Linked DNA regions of Homo sapiens: all the other regions are linked to region 1. Evidence: promoter capture Hi-C in 16 types of primary human blood cells and fetal thymus (Javierre and others, 2016). All regions are on one chromosome and are shown on one strand. The core of a region is centred on a gene start or on the middle of the fragment in contact, and the rest is flanking DNA. Distances in the headings are between cores, read along the strand shown.

What was found. Contacts are between HindIII fragments. The CHiCAGO score rates a contact against its expected background, and 5 or more counts as called.
Region 2: the fragment with the promoter of CTDNEP1 here is called in contact with the fragment with the promoter of TP53 in region 1 in 5 of 17 cell types (fetal thymus, total CD4 T cells, activated CD4 T cells and 2 more); the score reaches 7.6 in fetal thymus.
Region 3: the fragment with the promoter of BORCS6 here is called in contact with the fragment with the promoter of TP53 in region 1 in 1 of 17 cell types (fetal thymus); the score reaches 6.6 in fetal thymus.
Region 4: a contact is called between the fragment with the promoter of HES7 here and the fragment with the promoter of TP53 in region 1, in 1 of 17 cell types (naive CD4 T cells). The highest score is 6.6, in naive CD4 T cells.
Region 5: a contact is called between a fragment that was not itself captured here and the fragment with the promoter of TP53 in region 1, in 2 of 17 cell types (fetal thymus and non-activated CD4 T cells). The highest score is 5.9, in fetal thymus.
Region 6: a contact is called between the fragment with the promoter of VAMP2 here and the fragment with the promoter of TP53 in region 1, in 3 of 17 cell types (fetal thymus, naive CD4 T cells and non-activated CD4 T cells). The highest score is 10.3, in fetal thymus.
Region 7: a contact is called between the fragment with the promoter of DVL2 here and the fragment with the promoter of TP53 in region 1, in 4 of 17 cell types (fetal thymus, non-activated CD4 T cells, activated CD4 T cells and 1 more). The highest score is 9.4, in fetal thymus.

Annotation. Positions count from the first base shown.
Region 1 is chr17:7,686,008-7,689,409 of GRCh38, reverse strand. TP53 (tumor protein p53) reads left to right here and starts at 1,920. Exons shown (of 11, transcript NM_000546.6): 1 at 1,920-2,033. WRAP53 (WD repeat containing antisense to TP53) reads right to left here and starts at 933. Exons shown (of 11, transcript NM_001143992.2): 1 at 849-933; 2 at 331-762; 3 at 88-186. The coding sequence starts at 761. RefSeq lists enhancers at 982-1,031, 1,830-3,029, 2,990-3,039, 2,503-3,050, 3,070-3,199. The HindIII fragment of the contact is 572 bases long and covers 1,603-2,174 here.
Region 2 is chr17:7,249,821-7,252,983 of GRCh38, reverse strand. It overlaps CTDNEP1 (CTD nuclear envelope phosphatase 1), which reads left to right and starts at 1,250. Exons shown (of 8, transcript NM_001143775.2): 1 at 1,250-1,789. The coding sequence starts at 1,688. It overlaps ELP5 (elongator acetyltransferase complex subunit 5), which reads right to left and starts at 769. Exons shown (of 8, transcript NM_203414.3): 1 at 388-769; 2 at 154-214; 3 at 1-66. The coding sequence starts at 433. RefSeq lists silencers at 113-352, 1,123-1,332, 1,403-1,522 and enhancers at 383-602, 471-1,059, 1,060-1,647. The HindIII fragment of the contact is 9,547 bases long and covers 1-3,163 here.
Region 3 is chr17:8,188,638-8,191,896 of GRCh38, reverse strand. It overlaps BORCS6 (BLOC-1 related complex subunit 6), which reads left to right and starts at 1,717. Exons shown (of 1, transcript NM_017622.3): 1 at 1,717-3,259. The coding sequence starts at 1,757. The coding sequence ends at 2,830. It overlaps LOC124903913 (a long non-coding RNA gene), which reads left to right. Exons shown (of 2, transcript XR_007065604.1): 2 at 1-622. RefSeq lists enhancers at 1,258-1,903, 1,646-1,925, 1,904-2,550 and silencers at 2,036-2,085, 2,286-2,345, 2,416-2,465. The HindIII fragment of the contact is 3,696 bases long and covers 626-3,259 here.
Region 4 is chr17:8,122,798-8,125,797 of GRCh38, reverse strand. HES7 (hes family bHLH transcription factor 7) reads left to right here and starts at 1,692. Exons shown (of 4, transcript NM_001165967.2): 1 at 1,692-1,755; 2 at 2,672-2,767. The coding sequence starts at 1,714. It overlaps TRG-GCC2-6 (tRNA-Gly (anticodon GCC) 2-6), which reads right to left and starts at 52; the gene lies at 1-52. RefSeq lists silencers at 1-13, 124-173 and enhancers at 1-37, 1,314-1,834. The HindIII fragment of the contact is 4,110 bases long and covers 1-2,801 here.
Region 5 is chr17:7,204,598-7,207,852 of GRCh38, reverse strand. All of the region lies in intron 2 of DLG4 (discs large MAGUK scaffold protein 4), which reads left to right. Among named protein-coding and RNA genes, the nearest start is that of DLG4, 11 kb to the left of the region's middle. RefSeq lists an enhancer at 2,634-2,683. The HindIII fragment of the contact is 8,126 bases long and covers 1-3,255 here.
Region 6 is chr17:8,161,411-8,164,432 of GRCh38, reverse strand. It overlaps VAMP2 (vesicle associated membrane protein 2), which reads left to right and starts at 1,485. Exons shown (of 5, transcript NM_014232.3): 1 at 1,485-1,555; 2 at 2,064-2,184; 3 at 2,667-2,825; 4 at 2,909-2,960. The coding sequence starts at 1,554. RefSeq lists silencers at 1,118-1,177, 1,308-1,407, 1,568-1,757, 2,048-2,157 and an enhancer at 2,268-2,317. The HindIII fragment of the contact is 9,788 bases long and covers 1-3,022 here.
Region 7 is chr17:7,233,107-7,236,491 of GRCh38, reverse strand. It overlaps DVL2 (dishevelled segment polarity protein 2), which reads left to right and starts at 1,975. Exons shown (of 15, transcript NM_004422.3): 1 at 1,975-2,423. The coding sequence starts at 2,230. It overlaps PHF23 (PHD finger protein 23), which reads left to right. Exons shown (of 5, transcript NM_024297.3): 4 at 1-562; 5 at 652-1,454. The coding sequence ends at 866. RefSeq lists an enhancer at 1,778-1,827 and a silencer at 1,938-2,237. The HindIII fragment of the contact is 14,867 bases long and covers 1-3,385 here.

The sequences.
Region 1 (3,402 bases), core at 671-3,170:
CTGGGGCATCCCTCTCCTAGAAAACTGGACTGTTTTACAGTGAAAATCTCGGGGGTGGTCAGCTCCCTGCCCCGTTGTTATCCTTACCACTTACAGCCTTTCAAGAAGTTCTCAGGTTGGGTGCTGAACTCTGACCAGGAACCACTGAGAAATCGAGGCAGCTGGGAGAAGCTGTAGTTCCAAGCGCTGAAAGGAAGATGGGGGACAATAAACCTGGGTCGCCAAGCAAAGGGGGCAGAGGCCTGGAGAAGTGGGTCTCAGGACCAGAGGACAGATCGACCTCACACTTCATCTCCCCAGACTCCACACTCCACTGCCATCACCACTTACGTGTCTCCCTCGTCCTCTGCAGCGGGTTCCCCAGAGGTATCTTCCATGGCTTTTCCAGACCCCAACTCTGGCCCGTTCGCTTCTTCTTCAGAAAGGCTCCCGTTTGCTTCTTCTGCAGGAAGGCTTGTATTTTCAGAAAGTTCTTGCTCCTCGATTCGAGGACTCAACTCACTAGGGGAACCAAACTCTGTTTCCAGGGGAGTGGAGAGAGAAACTGGGTCCCCCTCCCGTAGCTCCTGGGACACAGCTGAGCCAGCCACAGGATCTGGGGACAACCGGGGCGGATCCCCCCTTTCGGGAGGCGGTGGCATCAGTTCAGAGTCCGCATTTTTATTCATCGGGGAAGCGTGGGGAGAAGGATGGGCTGGAGCTGGGTCCTGGTCTGAAGGACAGCAGTCCGGAGCTAACGGTTGAGTCTCCAAAGTCTTCATACTGCAGAGGAAGCACAGCGGAGATTAGCCTCAGCCAGGATGGCTTCGAAGTTCTCAGGGATCCGACGCAGAGCTAAAGAAACCCACCTGTGCTTCCCTCCTCTTCTGGGAGTAGGCAGAAGACTCCCGGGAGGAGAGGCGAACAGCGGACGCCAATTCTTTTGAAAGCACTGTGTTCCTTAGCACCGCGGGTCGCTACGGGCCTCTTGCTGTCGCGGGATTTCGGTCCACCTTCCGATTGGGCCGCCGCATCCCGGATCAGATTTCGCGGGCGACCCACGGAACCCGCGGAGCCGGGACGTGAAAGGTTAGAAGGTTTCCCGTTCCCATCAAGCCCTAGGGCTCCTCGTGGCTGCTGGGAGTTGTAGTCTGAACGCTTCTATCTTGGCGAGAAGCGCCTACGCTCCCCCTACCGAGTCCCGCGGTAATTCTTAAAGCACCTGCACCGCCCCCCCGCCGCCTGCAGAGGGCGCAGCAGGTCTTGCACCTCTTCTGCATCTCATTCTCCAGGCTTCAGACCTGTCTCCCTCATTCAAAAAATATTTATTATCGAGCTCTTACTTGCTACCCAGCACTGATATAGGCACTCAGGAATACAACAATGAATAAGATAGTAGAAAAATTCTATATCCTCATAAGGCTTACGTTTCCATGTACTGAAAGCAATGAACAAATAAATCTTATCAGAGTGATAAGGGTTGTGAAGGAGATTAAATAAGATGGTGTGATATAAAGTATCTGGGAGAAAACGTTAGGGTGTGATATTACGGAAAGCCTTCCTAAAAAATGACATTTTAACTGATGAGAAGAAAGGATCCAGCTGAGAGCAAACGCAAAAGCTTTCTTCCTTCCACCCTTCATATTTGACACAATGCAGGATTCCTCCAAAATGATTTCCACCAATTCTGCCCTCACAGCTCTGGCTTGCAGAATTTTCCACCCCAAAATGTTAGTATCTACGGCACCAGGTCGGCGAGAATCCTGACTCTGCACCCTCCTCCCCAACTCCATTTCCTTTGCTTCCTCCGGCAGGCGGATTACTTGCCCTTACTTGTCATGGCGACTGTCCAGCTTTGTGCCAGGAGCCTCGCAGGGGTTGATGGGATTGGGGTTTTCCCCTCCCATGTGCTCAAGACTGGCGCTAAAAGTTTTGAGCTTCTCAAAAGTCTAGAGCCACCGTCCAGGGAGCAGGTAGCTGCTGGGCTCCGGGGACACTTTGCGTTCGGGCTGGGAGCGTGCTTTCCACGACGGTGACACGCTTCCCTGGATTGGGTAAGCTCCTGACTGAACTTGATGAGTCCTCTCTGAGTCACGGGCTCTCGGCTCCGTGTATTTTCAGCTCGGGAAAATCGCTGGGGCTGGGGGTGGGGCAGTGGGGACTTAGCGAGTTTGGGGGTGAGTGGGATGGAAGCTTGGCTAGAGGGATCATCATAGGAGTTGCATTGTTGGGAGACCTGGGTGTAGATGATGGGGATGTTAGGACCATCCGAACTCAAAGTTGAACGCCTAGGCAGAGGAGTGGAGCTTTGGGGAACCTTGAGCCGGCCTAAAGCGTACTTCTTTGCACATCCACCCGGTGCTGGGCGTAGGGAATCCCTGAAATAAAAGATGCACAAAGCATTGAGGTCTGAGACTTTTGGATCTCGAAACATTGAGAACTCATAGCTGTATATTTTAGAGCCCATGGCATCCTAGTGAAAACTGGGGCTCCATTCCGAAATGATCATTTGGGGGTGATCCGGGGAGCCCAAGCTGCTAAGGTCCCACAACTTCCGGACCTTTGTCCTTCCTGGAGCGATCTTTCCAGGCAGCCCCCGGCTCCGCTAGATGGAGAAAATCCAATTGAAGGCTGTCAGTCGTGGAAGTGAGAAGTGCTAAACCAGGGGTTTGCCCGCCAGGCCGAGGAGGACCGTCGCAATCTGAGAGGCCCGGCAGCCCTGTTATTGTTTGGCTCCACATTTACATTTCTGCCTCTTGCAGCAGCATTTCCGGTTTCTTTTTGCCGGAGCAGCTCACTATTCACCCGATGAGAGGGGAGGAGAGAGAGAGAAAATGTCCTTTAGGCCGGTTCCTCTTACTTGGCAGAGGGAGGCTGCTATTCTCCGCCTGCATTTCTTTTTCTGGATTACTTAGTTATGGCCTTTGCAAAGGCAGGGGTATTTGTTTTGATGCAAACCTCAATCCCTCCCCTTCTTTGAATGGTGTGCCCCACCCCGCGGGTCGCCTGCAACCTAGGCGGACGCTACCATGGCGTGAGACAGGGAGGGAAAGAAGTGTGCAGAAGGCAAGCCCGGAGGTATTTTCAAGAATGAGTATATCTCATCTTCCCGGAGGAAAAAAAAAAAGAATGGGTACGTCTGAGAATCAAATTTTGAAAGAGTGCAATGATGGGTCGTTTGATAATTTGTCGGAAAAACAATCTACCTGTTATCTAGCTTTGGGCTAGGCCATTCCAGTTCCAGACGCAGGCTGAACGTCGTGAAGCGGAAGGGGCGGGCCCGCAGGCGTCCGTGTGGTCCTCCGTGCAGCCCTCCGGCCCGAGCCGGTTCTTCCTGGTAGGAGGCGGAACTCGAATTCATTTCTCCCGCTGCCCCATCTCTTAGCTCGCGGTTGTTTCATTCCGCAGTTTCTTCCCATGCAC
Region 2 (3,163 bases), core at 1-2,500, 440 kb after region 1:
GAGTCAAAACCTTCACGAAACTCTTCCTCGCTCACTTCACAGCCCAGGATATGCACTTGCTCCCCACTAAGGCAGAGATGAGAAGGGATTGTCAAAGAGTGGGCACAGGTGCCCTATCCAGGGTAGGCCGGGGAGACACTGTGGGATACTCACCACAGTGCAGATTTCTTGACAAGCGCCTTCAAGAGACTGCGCCCCTCCCACTCCACGGAATCTGCAGAGCGAGGGACGGATAAAGGGTATGAGAGCGCTGGGATTACCGCCTTCGCGAACCCGTCGCGATTTCCACACCTAGCCTGTGACCCCTGGCCCTTCCTGCCCACTTCCGTCCCCTCAGCCAGGCCCGAACCGCACCCCCCGCCCCGCCACCGTGCCTCTGGCTCTCACCCCGAAGCAGCACCAGGCCGCCCAAGGCCAACAGCGAGTCCAACATCTCCAACTCGCGTCCGGTCCCTGCTCTGGCGCCCTCTGATGGCGTCATGACCCAGTGTCCTTCCTCCTCGGGGTGAAACGGGCCGAGCACTCGGGCGTCCTCCCACCATTAAGACCTAACATAGTCTGGAATGAGAGGTGATTATGTTCAATATTCCCAGGGGGGCGCTCACGCGGAGGGCGCCCCTCCCCGAGCCCTGGCGCACAGTCGTACGGACAACGACCCCGTCTACATTTTCACTGTGACCGGGGCGGGAAGAGCAGTTGGGGCAGTTGTCAGTGGGAGGGGGAGGAGGACCCACAAGCCCCCCGCGAGGGCCCTAAGCGCGGGCCAAGTGACGTCACTCTCCCCGCCCACGCAGTTTGAGGCGGGGCCTGCTTCGCCTCAGGCCCCGCCCCGCGGCCACCTTCTGCGCGTGCGCAATACTGCAGCCTCGCTTGGAGTGCTTTTGGCTTTCCTTATACCTACCCGCCATAGACCGCGCAGGAGGAACTTAGTCCCGGTGAAGCGAATACACGTCACCACCGGAAGTAGTGTCAAAGGGGAAGAGGAGGGGGAAAGACAGGAAGAGGGAGTCCTTTGGACGGTAAAATGGCGCCTGTCAGAGTGGGAAACCCAGCTGCAGAGGCTGCAGCCCCGGTCCCCAGCGGCTAAAGGACCCCCGAGCTCGGGGAGGGGGAGGCCGCTCCGGCCCAGCGCTCTGCGCCCTCCGGCTCCCCCTCCCCCTCCTTCCCTGCTCCTTCGCTCTGCAGGCCCGTTCTCCGCTGCCGCGGCCCTTTGCGCGCCGCTGCCCCCGCCCTCCCCGTTCCTGCGAGCAGCCCCCTAGCGCGCCTGCGCAGCGGGCCACTCTCTGCTTTCCCCCCCTCCCCTTCCCTTTTCCCTTCCTCCCTTTTCCCTAGCCCCCTCCCCCACTGCCCCCTCCCCCAATTATCCTTCCCCTTCCCTCCAGGTCTCGGAGGACCCCATCCTAGCCCTACCTGTCTCGGCCCGCAACCTCCCCGAAGCCGTCGGTGCCACTCCCAGCCCATGTGGGCCCCCGCGGGCTGCCCACGCCTGTCCCCCAGCTCCCCGTTCCGCTGGGCTTTACCCTCGCCAGGGGTGGCTTTCTGAGCCGCCCGCTCCGTGCCCCTCTCTGCAGCCTCTCCTGCCACTCGGGGCCCCCGTTCCCCCTCCCGGCGGCGGGGGGCTGCCCCCGGGGGGCTGGCGGAGCTGGGCCGCGGGGGCCCCGGGGCCGGCGGTGCCGGGGTCATCGGGATGATGCGGACGCAGTGTCTGCTGGGGCTGCGCACGTTCGTGGCCTTCGCCGCCAAGCTCTGGAGCTTCTTCATTTACCTTCTGCGGAGGCAGATCCGCACGGTGAGCCAGGGTGGGCGCTGGCGGTGTTGGGGACGTCTGGCGGTGTTGGGGACATCTGTCCGTGGTGCTCAGGGGTTTTCGGAGTGTCGGGCCTCTGTTTGGGCCTAGGAAGGGAATCCTGGCTGGGGCTTTTCTCGCCAGAGAATTGGGCACCCTAAGCGGGGCGAGGTGGGAGACCCTTGTAATAGAACCTTGCCCTTGGGGGTTTTGATGGGGCTAGATGGGACAGGATTTGGCAACTCTTGGGGGCTAAGGTGGTGGGTGGGGCGCTCTTTAAGAAAGCTGGAGTTGTTGCTAAAGAAACCAAGAGGCGGGGAACACCTGTTTGATGACAGCCGGATCTGTGGATGTGGGCTTGGGAAAGACCCTATTTGGAACCTCGGTGTGTGTTTGGTCCTATAACAAGGAAGAGACAGACTTGTGTGTCAAGGGTGGAGGTGGGTGGGAGGGCATACGTTACAAACAAGGACGGGAACTTGGGAAAGCCCTGGGTGTGAAGGAGAAACGCCTGCGGTTCCCATTAAGAGAATTCCTCCAAAAAGGCTGTGAAAATTTATTTCATAGTGTGAGTGTAGGTATCTGGATTTATTGAAGACTAAAGCAGATGCTTTTACGATGGGCCTCTTTAATTGTGGGAGGGAGTTCAAGGTGGGTGCTGTGCCCACCATTGAAGTTTGGGTGTCCCTGTCAGAGGACAGCGCTGGGCAGTTGTAGGGCTTGAAAATGAGGACGTTTGCTTCTCCAGGAGAGCCTAGCATTCTGAGGGAAACTGTCCGGATGGACCCAAGCATCTCTGGGTCCCCTCTCCCTTAGCTTTTCTCCAAGGTCAGAGGTCCTTCAGCTAACAGCACTTTAAATGAATGTGCTCTTGTGGTCTCACCACCACCAGGGAGAATCCTCGGAAGGAGTCTGGGGAGAATTTAGTAAGCGGAGACACAGGTTCTGGGTCTGTACTGTGGTCTGTACCCCTTAGCATACCTCAATACAATTTGAAAGAATAAACCCAGGTTGGGGTGACCTGGGGTCCAGAGAATTTCCAGAAAGCCCTCAGTGGTAGTGGTGGTTGATTTAACTGATTTGGGAGAATGGGTCTGGCCTTGGGTTCATTCTGTCCTTTACCAGTCTGCTTCCACTTCCTGATTTAGGGCGCGAACAGTACAGGATGGTTGTGGCTGTAGGCAGCAGCGCTATTCCCCCGAGACAAGAGCTAGGAGCCAAGAAAAATTTAGGGTCAGAGATGCTGGGATATGTGTGGGGCTATCTCCTGGGGTTTTCTTTTCTTTTCTGAGACAGTCTCGCTTTGTCGCCCAGGCTGGAGTGCAGTGGTGCCATCTCCGCTCACTGCAACCTCCACTTCCTGGGTTCAAGCGATTC
Region 3 (3,259 bases), core at 468-2,967, 500 kb before region 1:
TTTTGTCAAGCTGCAGGTGACTATAAGATACAGACAGCTGACAATTGTGGACTCCTCAGGCGTGGTGAAAGATTGAGCTACTATCATTAGGGTTGGCTGGCTAGGACCCCGGCAGGCACCTGGGGATAGTAGTGCTGGGAAGTTCTGGGGAGTTGCACTTCTGAATGCTGGCATGACACTGCCTCAAGACATCTCTCTATCCAAATGGAAAAAACAACCACATCCTTTGTCAGCTAAGGAGAGTTAGCAAACTGTTTTTATTAAATACTGATGTCTGGCCGGGCACGGTGGCTCACGCCTGTCATGCTAGCACTTTGGGAGGCCGAGGCGGGTGGATCACTTGAGGCCAGTAGTTCAAGACCAGCCTGGCCAACATGGTGAAACCCCATCTCTACTAAAAATACAAAATTAGCCGGGCGTGGTGGCGGGCGCTTGTAATCCCAGCTACCCGGGAGACTGAGTTAGGAGAATCGCGTGAACCCAGGAGGCGGAGGTTGCAGTGAGCCGAGATCGCGCCACTGCACTCCAGCCTGGGTGACGGAGTGGGACTCTGTCTCTAAATACATAAATAAATAAATAAATAAATAAATAAATAAATAAATAAAAATACTGATGTCTCCAAGCTTTGGCTATGTGTTGCAATGTACAACCTTTCCAATGTCGCTGCACCATTGCATTTAGAGGAAATCTCCATTCCCTAACAGGAACTACAAGGCCCCCTGCATGACGTGGCCCCTGCTGCCTGTTCAGCTCCTTGGCTCGAAATCCTTCCCCTTATCTTGCTGATTTTGTTTTAGTCCCAATGTCTCCTGCCCCCTCACCTCAGTTTCTTGAATACGTCAAGACTTCTTTGTCTCTGAGAGGTAGCTCAAGTTTTCTTCTCTCTGCCTGGGGGGTGGCTGCGTCTTTTTGGTTCTTTTTAGTTAAAAGTCTCACCAAAGAGGTATTTTCCTGACCCCTTACCTAAACTAGTGCCTGCTCAGTTATATTCTCAATCATAACACTTTATTTCCTGTATAGCACATATCAAAATTTGTGATCATTTCATTTGTTGAATATTTTACCTCGTGGCAAAATCACACGCCATCCTCCAAGGGGCGAGACCCCTCAGTGTGAAAGGGGCAAGAGACACAGAACAAGAGTGACAAACGCATAGGAAAGCCCAGAGGCCGCTGCCTTGACCACAGTGGGTCGCTCTGAGCAGTTCAGTGGTTAGGTCTCTTAACCAAGAAAGATAGAGCAAACCATTCATGCTCATGCTGGACTTCTGGTTTCCTTCTTTTTAGTCAACTAGGTTCAACCCTGATGGTCCAAGAAGGATATGCCATTTTCATCCTAAGAACCTCTCTAGGAACCCCAAGTGGGCTCCCCACTTGGTATTTTTGCTAAGCAATCACTGTTGGGGGGGGTACAATTACAGGCAGAAAGGATCTGAGCCCCACCCCTCGGGACTCAGGAATTTGAGGACCTTGGTCTTTAAGATCTGCCCCATCAGCTTTCAGAAAGGGCGGGGCGACGGGAGCAGCTGTCACCTCCTTCTCTCCACCCTGCCGGCGTTCACGTGTGTTCCGCTGTGCAGTAACAGCTCTTCTTCCGGGACTTCCTGGTCGCCGCGACCAATCAAAATGCTTTTCCTGTCCTTACCATTGTCAGCCGCTGCCAATCGGCTCGCCTCTACCAACGCCCCTTAAAGGCGCAGCCACTGCCTCCGGAGCCGGGGCGAACCAATTCCTCCGTTGCGGCCCCCACCTGCAGTATGGAGTCGTCTCGGGGGCGGCCCGGGCCCGAGACGGACCTTCTGGCTGTAGCGGAACATCAGGCCCTAGTCTTTGGCGGCGGGCCGGGCCGAACGTCCTCTGAGCCGCCCGCAGGCCTCCGGGTGTCCGGGGAGGAAGAGACCGAGAACGTTGGGGGCGCGAACCGCCACCCCAGGACGTCCCCGAAGACGTCAAGCTGCGGCGTCGTCCACCGGCCGGAACGGGAGGCTCTGGAGAACGAGCCCGGCCCTCAAGGGACGCTGTCTGGGGCCGGGAGCCGCAGGGGGGCGCCGGGTGCAGAGCACGAACCTTCCCTGTCCTCCCGGCACAAGAACCCGGCGCCGCCCGAGGGCAAGCCCTCCTCCGGGAGGGACTGCCGTCGAGGGGGACCAGGCGGCGGGATGGATGTTGAGCAGCAGGAGGAGGAAGACAACGACGAGGAGGCGGCCGCGGGCAGCAGAGCCGGCCGCTCGTTCTCCAGCCGTCTTCAGGACAGCCGCAGCCTGGACGGGCTGAGCGAGGCGTGCGGTGGCGCCGGGTCCTCAGGGAGTGCCGAGTCCGGCGCGGGCGGCGGACGCCGCGCCACCATCTCCAGTCCCCTGGAGCTCGAAGGCACAGTGAGCCGCCACGGCGACCTTACCCACTTTGTCGCCAACAACCTGCAACTCAAGATCCGTCTGAGCGGCGCGCCTCCACCCCCGCCTTCTGCCCCTGCGCGGCCCTGCCCAGCGCCTGCACCCACACCCACACCGGCCATTCCCCCAATCGACCCCGAGGTGCTGCGGGATCTGGAGCGGTTGAGTCGGGAGCTGGGAGGCCGGGTGGACCGTCTGCTTCGCGGTCTGGGTGGCGCGGTGCAGGAGCTGACGGCGCTGAGCGTGGGTTGCATCCAGACCTACCGCGATGCTGTGGACTCCTTAGGTGAAGCCGTGGACATGAGCATCAAGGGCATGTACACCCTGCTGGCGCGCTGCGAGGAGCTGGAGCGGGCTCTGCAGCCGGTTCAGGGGCTGGCGCGCCAAGTCCGGGATATCCGACGTACTCTGGAGGTGTTGGAGGCCCTGTGCAAGTGACCAGGAGGACAGGAGAGGCCGGTCCTGGCCAGGGCAGGGCCCAGCAGGACCCTAAGGACTCTTCAGGGAGTCCTGGTGGGAAGTGCCCACTGAGGGGAGGCCTGTGTGTTGGAGGCTCTTCCAGATGCGTTCAGCTGGCCCGTGCCCACTCGCTGGGCCTTAGGCTGGTGTATGTGGGGAAGTTCTAACGGCTCTCCTGGTGGGAAGGGATGTTGCTCTGCTTGTATTCAGTTGGCCATCTGTAGCTACCCTGTTCTTCCCAACTCTCCTCCCTAGCTAGAGCACCAGCCCTGGGAACACGGGGCTTTAGGTCTGCTTGAAGGTGAGGACGTGACTCCCACATGTAATCAGGAGAAAGGGACAGAGGAAGCCCCAGCCCCCACTGTGGCTATCCTGACTCCAGTGGCCACATCTCAGGTGCCAGGGGCT
Region 4 (3,000 bases), core at 443-2,942, 440 kb before region 1:
ACCCGGGCCTCCCGCGTGGCAGGCGAGAATTCTACCACTGAACCACCAATGCGCGGCTTAAAGATTCTGCGGGGATCCTATCTGAGATTGTAAGAGGTTGAGGCGGACCCGGACAGGCAACGGTGTAGGCCAGGGAAGTGGTCCCGAATGGTTGCCGTGGGTGGAGCGCCAAGTCATCCTTCCTCTCGTCCGGATCCGGCCACCGGGCCATAAAGCCGCCCCATATGGCCAGGGGCGGCCCCACACCCGGGTGCGAACAGCCGGGGGCCCCCAGCCTCGCGTGCAGGTGAGAAAAATTCAGCCCGAGCCCAGGTTCCCAAGGAGGGGGGCGGCGGGGGCTGATGGGGACACACATTTGCGTTCCCATTTGGCTGAAGGACGGAGAGGTGGGATGTGCTGGGGGCCCTGATCCCAAATGGGAGCCCCCTCCTCAAGGTCTGTGCCTCTCCCGGCTCGGGCTATGATGGCAAGAAAGGCTTCGTGACAAAACCAAGGTGCGGAGGGCCGTTGGGAGGGCTTGAAGGAAACCCCATTGGTCTCTGATTTCACAGCTGTCTTCCGTCTCGGTCTGCAACCCTGTCTTTCCGTGTCTTTATCCCTGGCAACCTGGCTGTTCCCTTCAGTTTCTGATTTATCTTCTCAGACACTTTGTCCTGAAGCCCTCGAGTGGTCAGGCATCGTTCTGCGGAGGGTCATGCTCTTGGTTTGAGGTGGGTGTTGATCCCTTTTTTGTACCCCTTGCTTTCCCCTTAGTAAACTGCCTGCTCCCTGCTACCCTACAGTCACCAGGGGCCTCCAGAAGCAAGCAATGCGGGCACACTTGCGTGAGGTGTCCTATCAGCCACACTCCTGAATCTCCTATGACTAGTTTTGAATCAAATACTTGTACTGTAAGTGGAAAGACCTCTCCACTCATACCTATGTTTCAAAGACTTGCTCCCTCTGCCTTGAAGATCCTCCTCAGTCCAGCCATCCTTAAGGAGACCTTTTCCCGGAGCACCTACTTCACTGGGCTTCTGTAATAGCTACTTGGTGTCACATGGTCTTTTCCATTAGATCCTGCAGGGATAAGCTGGGTCTCTCCTGCGTATCTCACTATGACTCGCCCGAGCCTAGACAAGTGCCCTGTCCGCAGAGTGGGCGCGCAGATGTTCGCGGACTTGAATGTAACTGGCTTAGATAGAAGAGAGCGCCTCTCCAACCTCCCGGCAGAGCTTCGGTTGAGTCGGACAGATTCACCCAGCGCACTCGGGTTGCTCCCTGTCTCGACTAGGAAGCGAACTTCGGAGATGATGTATAAAATTCAGCCTGGGGGCTGAGAGGTGCTAACTTCTATTTCAGGGTTAGTGAGGGTACAGTAAGCCTCCCAGAAAGCTGCAATTCTGGAGGAACTCTGAATTTCATCCCCAAGCGAGCTCTGCCCCAATAGCCTCCTCCTTTCAGCTGGGTCCCGCCTCCTTATACAGCCTTACGGTCTGTAAACCAGCCAGTGCCCCCATTCACCCCTCACTTCCCGCACTCCCAGGCCAGTTTCTCTCCTTCCCCTCCCCCCTTCACTCCTCCTCTTTCCGGGAGCCTCGTGCCGGGTCCTAGAGGGGCAGAATCTGGATGTCGAAGGGGGCGGGGTCGGGTCCTATCCCTCCTACCCTTGGGCCGCGGAATATAAGGCTCCAGGCGAGCAGGGAACCGGTCCACACAGGGTCCGGAGGAGCAATGGTCACCCGGGATCGAGCTGAGAATAGGGACGGCCCCAAGGTGAGAGGCGGGAGGGGAGGGAGCAGAGGTCCCTGGTTTGGCTAGGGGACTGGGCCCCTGACGCCGTCGGTCTGGAGAGAGGCTGGGGACGCAGGGGTGGAAGGGGAGCGGTGCTCCAGAACTCCAGGAGCCAGAAGCTGGAGAGGAAGCTGCAAAATATGAAGAAGGGGACAGGGGTCAGAGCCAGACCTGAGTGGGCGGCGGGAACATAGGACTAGGGGCCTCGGTAATGGGTGTCGGCACCTTGTGGCCTGGGGAGGGGGCCGGTGTTGGAGTAAAATAAGCAATTAGAGGGCAGAGCCAAGGGAGGAGGGTGGGAACGAAAAGAGAAGAGGATAGGCACTTGCTCCACTCTGGCTGTGAGCCGGGCGGGGCTGGCCCAAGGCGGTCTTGTACAGAAGGTCCCGGGGCGTTGGTTCCAGAGGCCCCAGACTGGTGGAAGATTTTAGGAGAACCGTGGAGAAGGTGAAGGCCTGGAGGGTTTTGAGGGAAAAGAGGCGGCGCGGTCGCGCTAGGTATCTCCCTTTCTATACTCAGGGCCGCCAGGTCTGAGCCCGGCACCGTGCGGCGCACGTGCGTGCGCGCAGAGAGTCCCCAAAGTTCTCCACTGAGACAAAGAGAAACTGCACCAGACGGAGACGTAGAGAGAAAAGAGGAGGAGAGACACAGAGAGGGGAGGAGGGAGGACGAGACTGAGAGAGGAGAATGCGAAGATCCGGGGAGGCGAGCTACAGAAACTGATCTAGGGGCATTGGGAGGGGGAGCGGAGAGGGATCGAATGGGGCCGGCCCTAGGCAATCTGGGGTCTTGTGGCCGGGGTGGAAGCCGGGCTCTCCCAGCGGCGGGATCCGACGCCGGGGCGGCCGCACTGAGTCTCGGTCTGGTCGGCCCGCTCTCCTTTTCTCGCTGGTCGCAGATGCTCAAGCCGCTTGTGGAGAAGCGGCGCCGGGACCGCATCAACCGCAGCCTGGAAGAGCTGAGGCTGCTGCTGCTGGAGCGGACCCGGGACCAGGTCAGTCCCTCCGCTAGCCCTAGGTCCCCAAGCTTCCCGTTTCCGCGTCCCAGGGCTTCCCACTGGGGTGGGGACACAAGCTTGGTTGGCAACCCTGGCCCCAAGGCATCCTCACCCGAGTCCCGCCTTTGGAATTCCATCCCAGACCCCCACTCGCTCTCAGAACGCGATCTTCTTCGCCACCCCTCGGGTCTGTAAGTTTCACGCCTGGTTCTGTAAATTTCGCTCCCGGG
Region 5 (3,255 bases), core at 517-3,016, 480 kb after region 1:
TGGATGTAAAGCCTAAAGCAAGAATGTGTGTGTGCGCGCGTGCCTGTGCGCGTGTGCTGTGTGTGTGCCTGTGCGTGTGTGCATGCATGCGTGCCTGTGTGTGTGCTGTGTGTGTGTGTGCGTGCGTGCGCCGTTTGTGTGCCTGTGCGTGTGCTGTATGCGTGTGTGTTGAGGTGTGTGCATCCCCCAAGAGGCCCCCACGCCTGGGACCTCTTCATTCCTTCACACCCCCAACCTCCATTTCCATTTTCTGTGTCCAGAGCTCTGTTCCAAGCGCCTGCTGCCCTCATTTGCTCTTGTCCCTTCCCCGCCTCCTCCCCCTACCTCCGCCTCTGGGCCTGGCTCGCCCTGTCCCCAAGTCTCCAGCTCTTTCCATCTGTCTGGCCTGAGACTTCACATGGTGGGGCCTTGCTGCCTCGTCCCCTGCCCCAGCTTTGCTCCACTCCTGAGTTCTCTTCCCCCTCTGCAGCCTTTCCTCCCTGCTGGCTGGCTGGCTGGCTGGCTCTTGATGCTGTCTCTCTCTTCCTCCCACGCATTCTCCTCTCCCTCTCCCTGATCCCCAGCCCAGGCCGCTGGGGCCTGATCAGTCCTTTCCCTCATCAGTCCTCTCCCTCCATCAGCCAGCTCCCCTTTCCCATGTTCCCTCTTGCCTATTCATCTTCACCTTCCCTCTTTTCCTCCTCCCCTCTCTCATCCTCTTGGGTTCTCACCTCTGCCATATCTTCTTTCTATCCCCCTCTGCCCCCTCCATCATCCCCCACCACCTGTTTCCCTTTCTCCTCTCTGCTCACAGCGTCCTCCTCTCTCCAGTCCCGGGAGGCCTGGTTTCTGGGACCTTCCATTCTCCAGTCCACTTTCCATCTTCCCCTTCCTCCATCTCCTCTTCTGGGGACACAGGATGGGGAGGACTGGAGAGCACCAGGCAAGCTGTGAGATTGAGGGGACACTGTGGGGTCAGGGTGGGGATTCTAGGATGTTGTGGGATGCTCTGGGAAGGGGGAGGTTGCTGACATTTCACCAAGAAGATGGGGAGGAGGTCTCTGAGCCTAGGGAGCGGGCAAGCAGGTTCTGGAGTTAGAACTGGCAAGAGAGGAGTTGGGGGATAGGAAGGGTAAGAGGTCCTGGGTCAGGGGCCAGATAGGGATAAGACTGTGAGATCAGGGCAGTGAATGAGGCTGACAGAGCAAGGAAAGGAAGGCCCTGGAGACAGGGATGGTACAGAGTGTTTGTGCGAATTCTGTGGATGCTAGGAGTGAGGGAAAGAAGACTAGAGATGCTTTGTGCAAGGCAGGGCCATTAAATCCCTGAGCAGGGGGAAGAGGAGGTAGGGAGCCTGAGGGGTGGTAGTTAGTACAGAGCTGCTGCTGATCAGAGCTCAGGAGCAGAAGGGGGTGGAGGGAGAGAGTGTTGGAGGCCATAAGCATGGGGTGGAGGTCTCAGGACAAGGCCTCACCTGGGGAACAGGAGAAGCCCCAATTTTCAGAAGAGAGGGGAGTTGATTGAGAAGTGTAAGATTGTTACTTGAGAATAATCTTGAGGGTATGAAGGTAGGGTAAGGGAGAATGGTGATAAACTCTCTGGGGAATCAGAAATTGAGATGGAGTAGCTGGGTGGGGTGGCATGTGCCTGTAGCTACTCAGGAGGCTGAGGTGGGAGGACTGCTTGAGCCCAGGAGTTCAAGGCCGCAGTGAGCTATGATCACACCACTGCACTCCAGCCTGGGTGACACAGCGAGACCTTGTCTCTGGAAAAAAAGAAATTGGGATGGAGGATGAGGCCACATTGGTAAGGGATGGGGCTGGAGGGTGCGACAGGGCCAGGGAAGCGGATGGAGAATGGAGGCTGGGGTTGGAAGATGGATGTTGAAGGGCGAGACAGGGATGGAGATGGAGCATGTGGGATGCGGGCAGAGATAGGGATGGGAAGCAAATGAATGTCGTAGTGGATGAAGGTGGGTGTGCTGGGAAGGAGGTTCCAGGATAGGGATGGGGATGGGGATTGAGGATGGGCTATGGGATGGAGGACGGGCTATGGGATGGAGGACGGGCTGCGGGATGGGGGACGGGCTGCGGGATGGGGGACGGGCTGCGGGATGGGGGACGGGCTGCGGGATGGGGGACGGGCTGTGGGATGGGGGACGGGCTGTGGGATGGGGGATGAACACGTGGATGAGATTTTGGCAGTCAGTGACTGTTGGTTGGACAACAGCATTTGCTGATATGTGAAGGGTTGGAGGGTGGTGTTAATAGATTTATGGGTGTGAAATCTGTGATACAGCTTGAAAATGGTCGGTAGTTTGTAGGCTTGAGAAATAGCAGTAGGAGAGGGGAGGGACCCCTTTGGACGGGGAGAGCGGGAAGGAGACTGGGGAATCCTTGCGCTTGGGCGACTGCAAATACATGTTTCTTTAAGGAGGAAGTAGGTTGGGGACCCCGGAAGGAGGCTCTTGGCGGCCTCCCCCCATTGCCATAGAGACGTGGCTTCGGTTGCCCTGGCAATTGGGGAAGCCCCTAGGACCGGGCTAAAGCGGGCCCCGCCTGGGAGTCTAGAGACCAGGCGATTGACGTCAGGGACCTGGGCACGCCCCACTTTAACCCTTTCCCGAATGAAGTGGGGGGAGGGAGTAGATGAGCGGGATAGGACCCGGATGTCTTTCACCACTCCCAGTTCCTGACGTCCTTTGCACTGCGTAGGGTGAGGGGCGTAGGGGAGCGAGGAAGGCAGGTTATTCAGGATGCGCTGCGCCCACAAACCTCTTCAGCCCGGCCTCCTCTCGGCCTGGCTAACGTGGGGCGGGGCCCAGGGCAGGAGAGGCGGGGCTAGCGGATCCCTTCTGCGCTCAGGAGTTTGGTCGGCCCCAGGCCACGCCCCACCCCCCTGTTGTCCTGACGACAGGGCCTCCTGGAGGTGGGTCTCCCCGGGTCTTGACTGGTCCTAGATACCGTTGCTAGGCAACACGGTCCTTAGAGGAAGGGGTGGATTGGACGGCTGGTTGGTGAGACCGAGGGAGGGGCCTGCAGCTGGGGAACCCCGGATTCCCGGGGTGCAGGGTTTAGGGCAAATGTCTGTGAAAGTGAGGGGCAAGTCTAGGGGAGGGTTATGAAAATATCTGGGTAGATATGGGGGGTTGGGGGGATGGGGCAGGAAATGGGGACCAGGACCCGGTGGACATGATCCCTGGGGTGTCCATGTGTAGCACATAAGGCATGTAACACCCTGTGGTGTTACATCCGGTGAGAAGCTCCCTTCCCCCAA
Region 6 (3,022 bases), core at 236-2,735, 480 kb before region 1:
ACTGCAGTGGGGGAGGATCTCACACCCGGAGGCCCTGGGAAGCCAGGGTGGGGGAGGGAGGAAGCTGGTTCCTGTTTGTCTTAGAGATCAAGGCCATCAGCCTCCCTGCACCTTCCAGGGATGTAGTAAGCACCCCCACCCCAGGGCCAAAGGGCCTCGCCTAAAATGCCTCCTGCACCCTTGAGGCTTGCTTTGACCCCCTGCACTCCACCAGAGCGACAGCTCCCCTGGTCCCATCTTCTCTGACAAGCTGGGTGGGAGTGTATACAGCTGCTGGGTGTGCTTAGAGGGCCTAATGGAGACCAGCCAGGGATAATCTCCTATGTTATCCACATCAAGCCATTTAACAAATATGGATTTAGTACCTACATATGCAATGTATTTGGGGTCCAGAGAGAGGAGGGCAACGGTCCAAGGTCACACCTGCGAGGCGAATACGCATGTAAAGCAGCACCTTGTAACCTGTGCCCACTGTGCCTACTACTAAAGAAAAAAAAATGAGAGAAAAAGAAAAAAGGCTTTTTTTTTTTTTTTGGCCCAGGCCCTGTGCCTGGGACCAAAGCCTGAGCCCTTTCCTGCAGTCGGGTCGCTGACCTAAGCCTGGGGCAAAGCTAGGTCTTGGCCAGTCAGCAGCCACCACGTGAAGCAGCCCCTGCCCCCATCACCCCCGGCAGCCTTGTGCCCTCCTCCTCGGGGTCCTCAGCTCACCCCACCTCAGTCGGGCCTGCTCCAGCGGTTAAGTACCCCTAGTCTGAACCTTAATCGTGAGGCGGGGCAGCCCCCTCCCCACACCCTGTAGACACTCCCCCGTCCTCCGCCCCCTGGACTTGTTTGGGCGGGAAGAGCCTGCCTCATCTTTTCTTCCTACCCTCCTACCCAGTGGCCAGGGACCCCAGGCTTCCTCTGAGACATCCACCAGCGGTGATGGGTTGGGACCAATCTCCCCCACTCCTCTCCACCCTAGCAGTAAGGTCCCCGCTCTCGATACTGCCCCAGCACCTGCACTGGCCCTCTCTGATTTCCCAACTCCAGCCCATTCCAAGTGCTGAAGGCGGGTCGCTAGGTGCTGGGACCTGGGCGCGGGGCAAGACCTTGGGCTGTGTGGGGTGCAGGCTGGTTTACTGGGTTCACGATTGAGGGAGTGGTCTGGGGGTTAGGTGTAGGGCCAGGCTGCGTTGTGCTCTAAGGGGCAGGCGGCAGGCGGTTTGGGGGGGCTGTGGTCAGACAGGGTGGGGTGGCGGTGGGTTTGGGGAAGCCGCAGCAGCCCGCCTTGGGGTCCCGCGAGTGCCGAGGGAGCTGCCGGGGCATGGTGGCGCGGGGCCCGTGGTCCTGCCCGGCACGACCCCCGCCCCGCAGCGCCCCGCAGCGCCCCGCCCCCGCGGCCCCGCTCGCGACGCGTCTCCCGCGGCGCCCCGCCCCCGCCCGCAGTGCCCGGATGCGGGTGACGCGCGGCCGCCATCTTTCCGTCCCGGGCAGCCAGCGCCAGTCGGAGCCAGCGCGAGCCGCCGCCGCCATCACTGCCGCTGCCAAGTCCTCCACCCGCTGCCCCCGCCATGTGAGTCGGCCGCCCGCCACCCTCACCGCGCTTCCCTGCGCCGGCCGCCGCCCTTGGCAACCGGCCGTCGGGAGTGCCCGGGGTCTCTCCTGCGTTCCCCGCGCCCCGGGGCCAGGCCCAAGCCGGTGACTGCGCGCGGGCGGCCGAGGAGCCCCGCGTCCCGGGCTGGCCGGCTCGGGCGATGGCCGCGGGAAGGAGCGGACCCAGTGTCCTCCTGCCCCTCCCCGCCCCTGTCACCGCGGCCGCCTGTCTTTTCGGGTCGACCCGGATCGCATCTGTGAGGTCGCCCTCAGTTGACAGGCGGGGAAACTGAGGCCGGGGGGGCCTCGCTCAAGGTCACGCAGCTCATCGGCGGCAGGGCTGGACCGAGACCAGGGCTTACATCGGGTGGCCTTCCTCCCGAAAAGGAGGACTGGAGGGACGAGGATGGACAGGTGGATGGGCGGAGCCCTGGCTGCGGGGCCGGGAGGCTGCAGGCCCTGGGTCTTAATCCGTCCCTGCTCCTCAGGTCTGCTACCGCTGCCACGGCCCCCCCTGCTGCCCCGGCTGGGGAGGGTGGTCCCCCTGCACCCCCTCCAAACCTCACCAGTAACAGGAGACTGCAGCAGACCCAGGCCCAGGTGGATGAGGTGAGTGTGGGGGGAGTCAAAAGCAGTAGGAGGGACCCTGGGGGTTGGCGTATAGGTGTAGGGGCCCATGTTGGTTTGGGAGTGATGACAGTTCACGCCTGTGGGTTTGCGGACAAAGATACCATGCCCCATCCCTGTCTCCCTGTCAGCACGCACTTGGAAGGGCGCTGGGGGTGTTAATCAGCTTTGCTAGCCTGGGGTGTGCCAGCCTGGGCAGGTGTGCTCTGGTGATGGACAGAGCGCCTGAGGTTCCATAGAGGGAGGGTGTTGCTATGACATCTGAGATGTCACCAGCATGCCCCTGATGTGTGCTCCTTGCATGTCCCCAGGTGTGCTAGGCATGTTCTGTGTGTCCTTGGCATGTTAACCTGGCAGTATCAGGGTGCATGTTCCATGTGTGGCACGGTGGGCACATGTTTGAGGATTGCCCTCACTGAGGTGGGCCTTGGCACACCCCCCTGCCTCGTGGGCCCTTCTCCCAGGTGGTGGACATCATGAGGGTGAACGTGGACAAGGTCCTGGAGCGAGACCAGAAGCTGTCGGAGCTGGACGACCGTGCAGATGCACTCCAGGCGGGGGCCTCCCAGTTTGAAACAAGCGCAGCCAAGCTCAAGCGCAAATACTGGTGGAAAAACCTCAAGGTAAGGGTGGGGACAGGAAGGAGGACAGGTGGGTGAATGGGGTATCATAGTTTGTCTTACTGATCCTCGCCTCTCACCCCCAGATGATGATCATCTTGGGAGTGATTTGCGCCATCATCCTCATCATCATCATAGGTGAGTAGGGTGAGAATGGCCGGGGCCCTTTCCCTGGAGAGGTTTCCCCAGTGGATTCTAGG
Region 7 (3,385 bases), core at 726-3,225, 450 kb after region 1:
GCATCTCCTTTGTCCCCCACATCCCTGACACATACCTCCCGGCCCCCTGCTGCTCTTACCCCCGTGCCCCTTTCCCAGGGGGACCTCTCCCATCCTCCTCGAAAGAAGGACCGAAAGAACCGAAAGTTGGGGCCAGGAGCTGGGGCTGGCTTTGGGGTGCTTCGGAGGCCTCGGCCAACTCCTGGGGATGGGGAAAAGAGATCTCGAATCAAGAAGAGCAAGAAGCGGAAGTTAAAAAAGGCAGAACGGGGGGATAGACTCCCACCTCCTGGGCCTCCCCAGGCACCCCCCAGTGATACAGACTCTGAAGAGGAGGAGGAAGAGGAGGAAGAGGAAGAAGAAGAAGAGATGGCAACAGTGGTAGGGGGTGAAGCCCCAGTCCCTGTGCTGCCAACACCCCCTGAGGCTCCTAGGCCCCCTGCCACAGTGCACCCTGAAGGAGTCCCTCCTGCTGACAGTGAAAGCAAGGAGGTGGGCAGCACTGAAACAAGCCAAGATGGAGATGCCAGCTCCAGTGAAGGCGAGATGCGGGTCATGGACGAGGACATCATGGTAGAATCAGGTGAGAGGTTCGGGCTGGGGCGAGGGGTTTGAGGGTGTTGTGGATCCAACAGCTCAGGCAGAATACCAAACAAACCTTTTTTTCCCCAGGTGATGACTCATGGGATCTGATCACATGTTACTGTCGAAAGCCCTTTGCAGGGCGGCCCATGATTGAGTGCAGCCTGTGTGGGACGTGGATCCACCTCTCCTGTGCTAAGATTAAGAAGACCAACGTCCCCGACTTCTTTTATTGCCAGAAATGCAAGGAACTGAGGCCAGAGGCCCGGCGGTTAGGGGGGCCTCCCAAATCTGGAGAGCCCTGATGGCACCAACTTTAGCCTGGAACTTCCAAATGACAACATGATTTGGGAACTGAGCCTCAGGGTCCTCAGCCTATCCCCTGGAGCTTGGATACTGTCTGCACTTCAAGGCAGGAATTCTCAAGGGAGACTTGTTTGAAAATGAGTGTCTCACTTTCCCACCCTATCCTTCCTCCCCACTCTGTGGACTTGAAATTGAATCCATTACGGTTGGGGATGGGAGGCTGTCTGTGTCCCGACACATAATCTCTGTCTCTTGGACCTGCCACCATCACTTTCTGGGTCAGGATTGGAATTGGGATGGAATGGGACAGTTGTCTATAAAACTCTAGTGTAAATATTAGCACTCCCCTCCCTCATCTTTTCTTCTATTTCACTCCCCATTTATTTTCTTCTACACCGGTTGTATTTTTAATTTTGGACTTCCCCTATTGGGCATGGCAGCTCAAAGGTGGAGTACTAGAGCCTGGCCAAGTGAGGAAGGAAAGCAGAAAGGTGACGATTCTCACTCACCTCTTTTGTTTTTAATAATATCGGCCGCTGTTTGTACAGACAGCCTGCGTGTTGTAAATAAAGCAGAGTGGGCTCTTTTGTGTTTATAGCCCTCACTGTCCTGCTCGGGAGGGAGGCTTTGGTGGCTGAAGACTAGCTGGAGGTGGGGCTGAAACCCACGTCTCAAAGTCCAATCTGAAGATATCACAGCACTGGGCCTTTCCCACCCCAAGACAAGTAAGCCACCTTAGAGCTTTCATTGTATTTGGCCCTCCCCACTCGAGTCTAGGAACCCCCACAGTCCCCACCTTCACTCCCTGCACGCACACTCCTGCGGGTCAGAGTTGCTTCGTGCTCCATCGTGGGTGGGGTAAAGCGGGGTGGGAGCCGATGGTCCGTTTCCTGAAGGCACAGGCCAGCTTAGCCTGGGTGCTCAGAGGACCTCGGCTGGGGTACACGTTTGGGGGCTGGGAGACCGTTGCTGAAGGCAGCGATCATGTGGCGGGGGCACTAGGCGGAGTCAGACGGTCACGTGATTGGGAGGGGATCACGTGACGGAGGGCGGCTGAGGAGCGCGGGGTGGCTGCCTTTAAGTCACGTGACATGAGGAGAGGTGGGCGGGTACCTGGAGGAAGCTCGCGGCGTCGGTGGCGGTGGCGCGCGGCGGCCGCTGAGACCGGGGCTTTGAGTCGCACCCCGCGGCCCGCCCCCCGCCGCCACCCTCGCAGATCCGTGCTTTTTCCCCTTTGCTTCTCTCCCGTACTGGGTCAGTCCTGTCCGCGCTCGCGCGTCGGTTTGCGGGTGTGCGCAGGCGCGGCAGGGGCCATTAGCCCTTTGGGTGGGCGGTGGAGCCCGGGAGCGCGCGGGCGAGACCATGGCGGGTAGCAGCACTGGGGGCGGTGGGGTTGGGGAGACGAAGGTGATTTACCACCTGGATGAGGAAGAGACTCCCTACCTGGTGAAGATCCCTGTCCCCGCCGAGCGCATCACCCTCGGCGATTTCAAGAGCGTCCTGCAGCGGCCCGCGGGCGCCAAGTACTTTTTCAAGTCTATGGATCAGGATTTCGGGTGAGCGCAAGGCCTAGATAGGACCGGCGGGGGCTTTGCTAGAGTGGATTGGGCGACATGGAGGGGCACACGTCTACTTTGGGCCACACTGGGATTTTCTGGCCTATGGTGGAGCAGATTGTACTATGCTGAGGTAGGTTGACTATCCCAGGATGGACAAGGTTATGCTTGGATAGATTGAGGCACACGGACAGACTAGGATATCCTAAACCAGATTAGACAAGATTAGGCTTTACTGGAATAGGTGGGGGCATACTGGTTTATGTTGGAGTATTCTAGTCTGTACTGAGTAAATTGATCCATTGTCTGGTTGTTTAGTACGTTCTCAGGAGTCCTGTAACGCCTGTAATCCCAGCACTTTGGGAGGCTGAGGCGGGCGGATCACGAGGTCAGGAGATCGAGGCCATCCTGGCTAACACGGTGAAACCCCATCTCTACTAACTAAAAATACAAAAAATTAGCCGGGCGTGGGGGCACGCGCCTGTAGTCCCAGCTACTTGGGTGGCTGAAGCAGGGAGAATCTCTTGAACCTGGGAGGCGGAGGTTGCAGTGAGCCGAGATCGCGCCACTGCACTCCAGCCTGGGCGACAGTGCGAGACTCCGTCTCAGAAAAAAAACAAAAAACACTTGGGCCATTATGGACTCTACTGGGTTGTATTGGTTAATCCTGGTTTCTCTTGGGGCAAGACTTGGTTTTATTGGAGCACTCGGTATAGGGGCAGACAAGGCTGTTGGGGCCTGTGCTAGCACAGGCAGCCGTATTGGGATGTTCCAATCTAGACTGGTGCAGACAGCTGCGTGTGGGGGCATTGTAGGCTGTGCTAGAATAGATTGGGCTATCCTAGGGTAATTTGGGACATTCAGGGCTATCTTGGACTAGATTGGCGTGTAAATAATGCAGAGAAAGCCCTTTTGTGTTTATGGTCTTTGGGGCTGAGCCTTCTGGGTCCTCAACCTCTGCT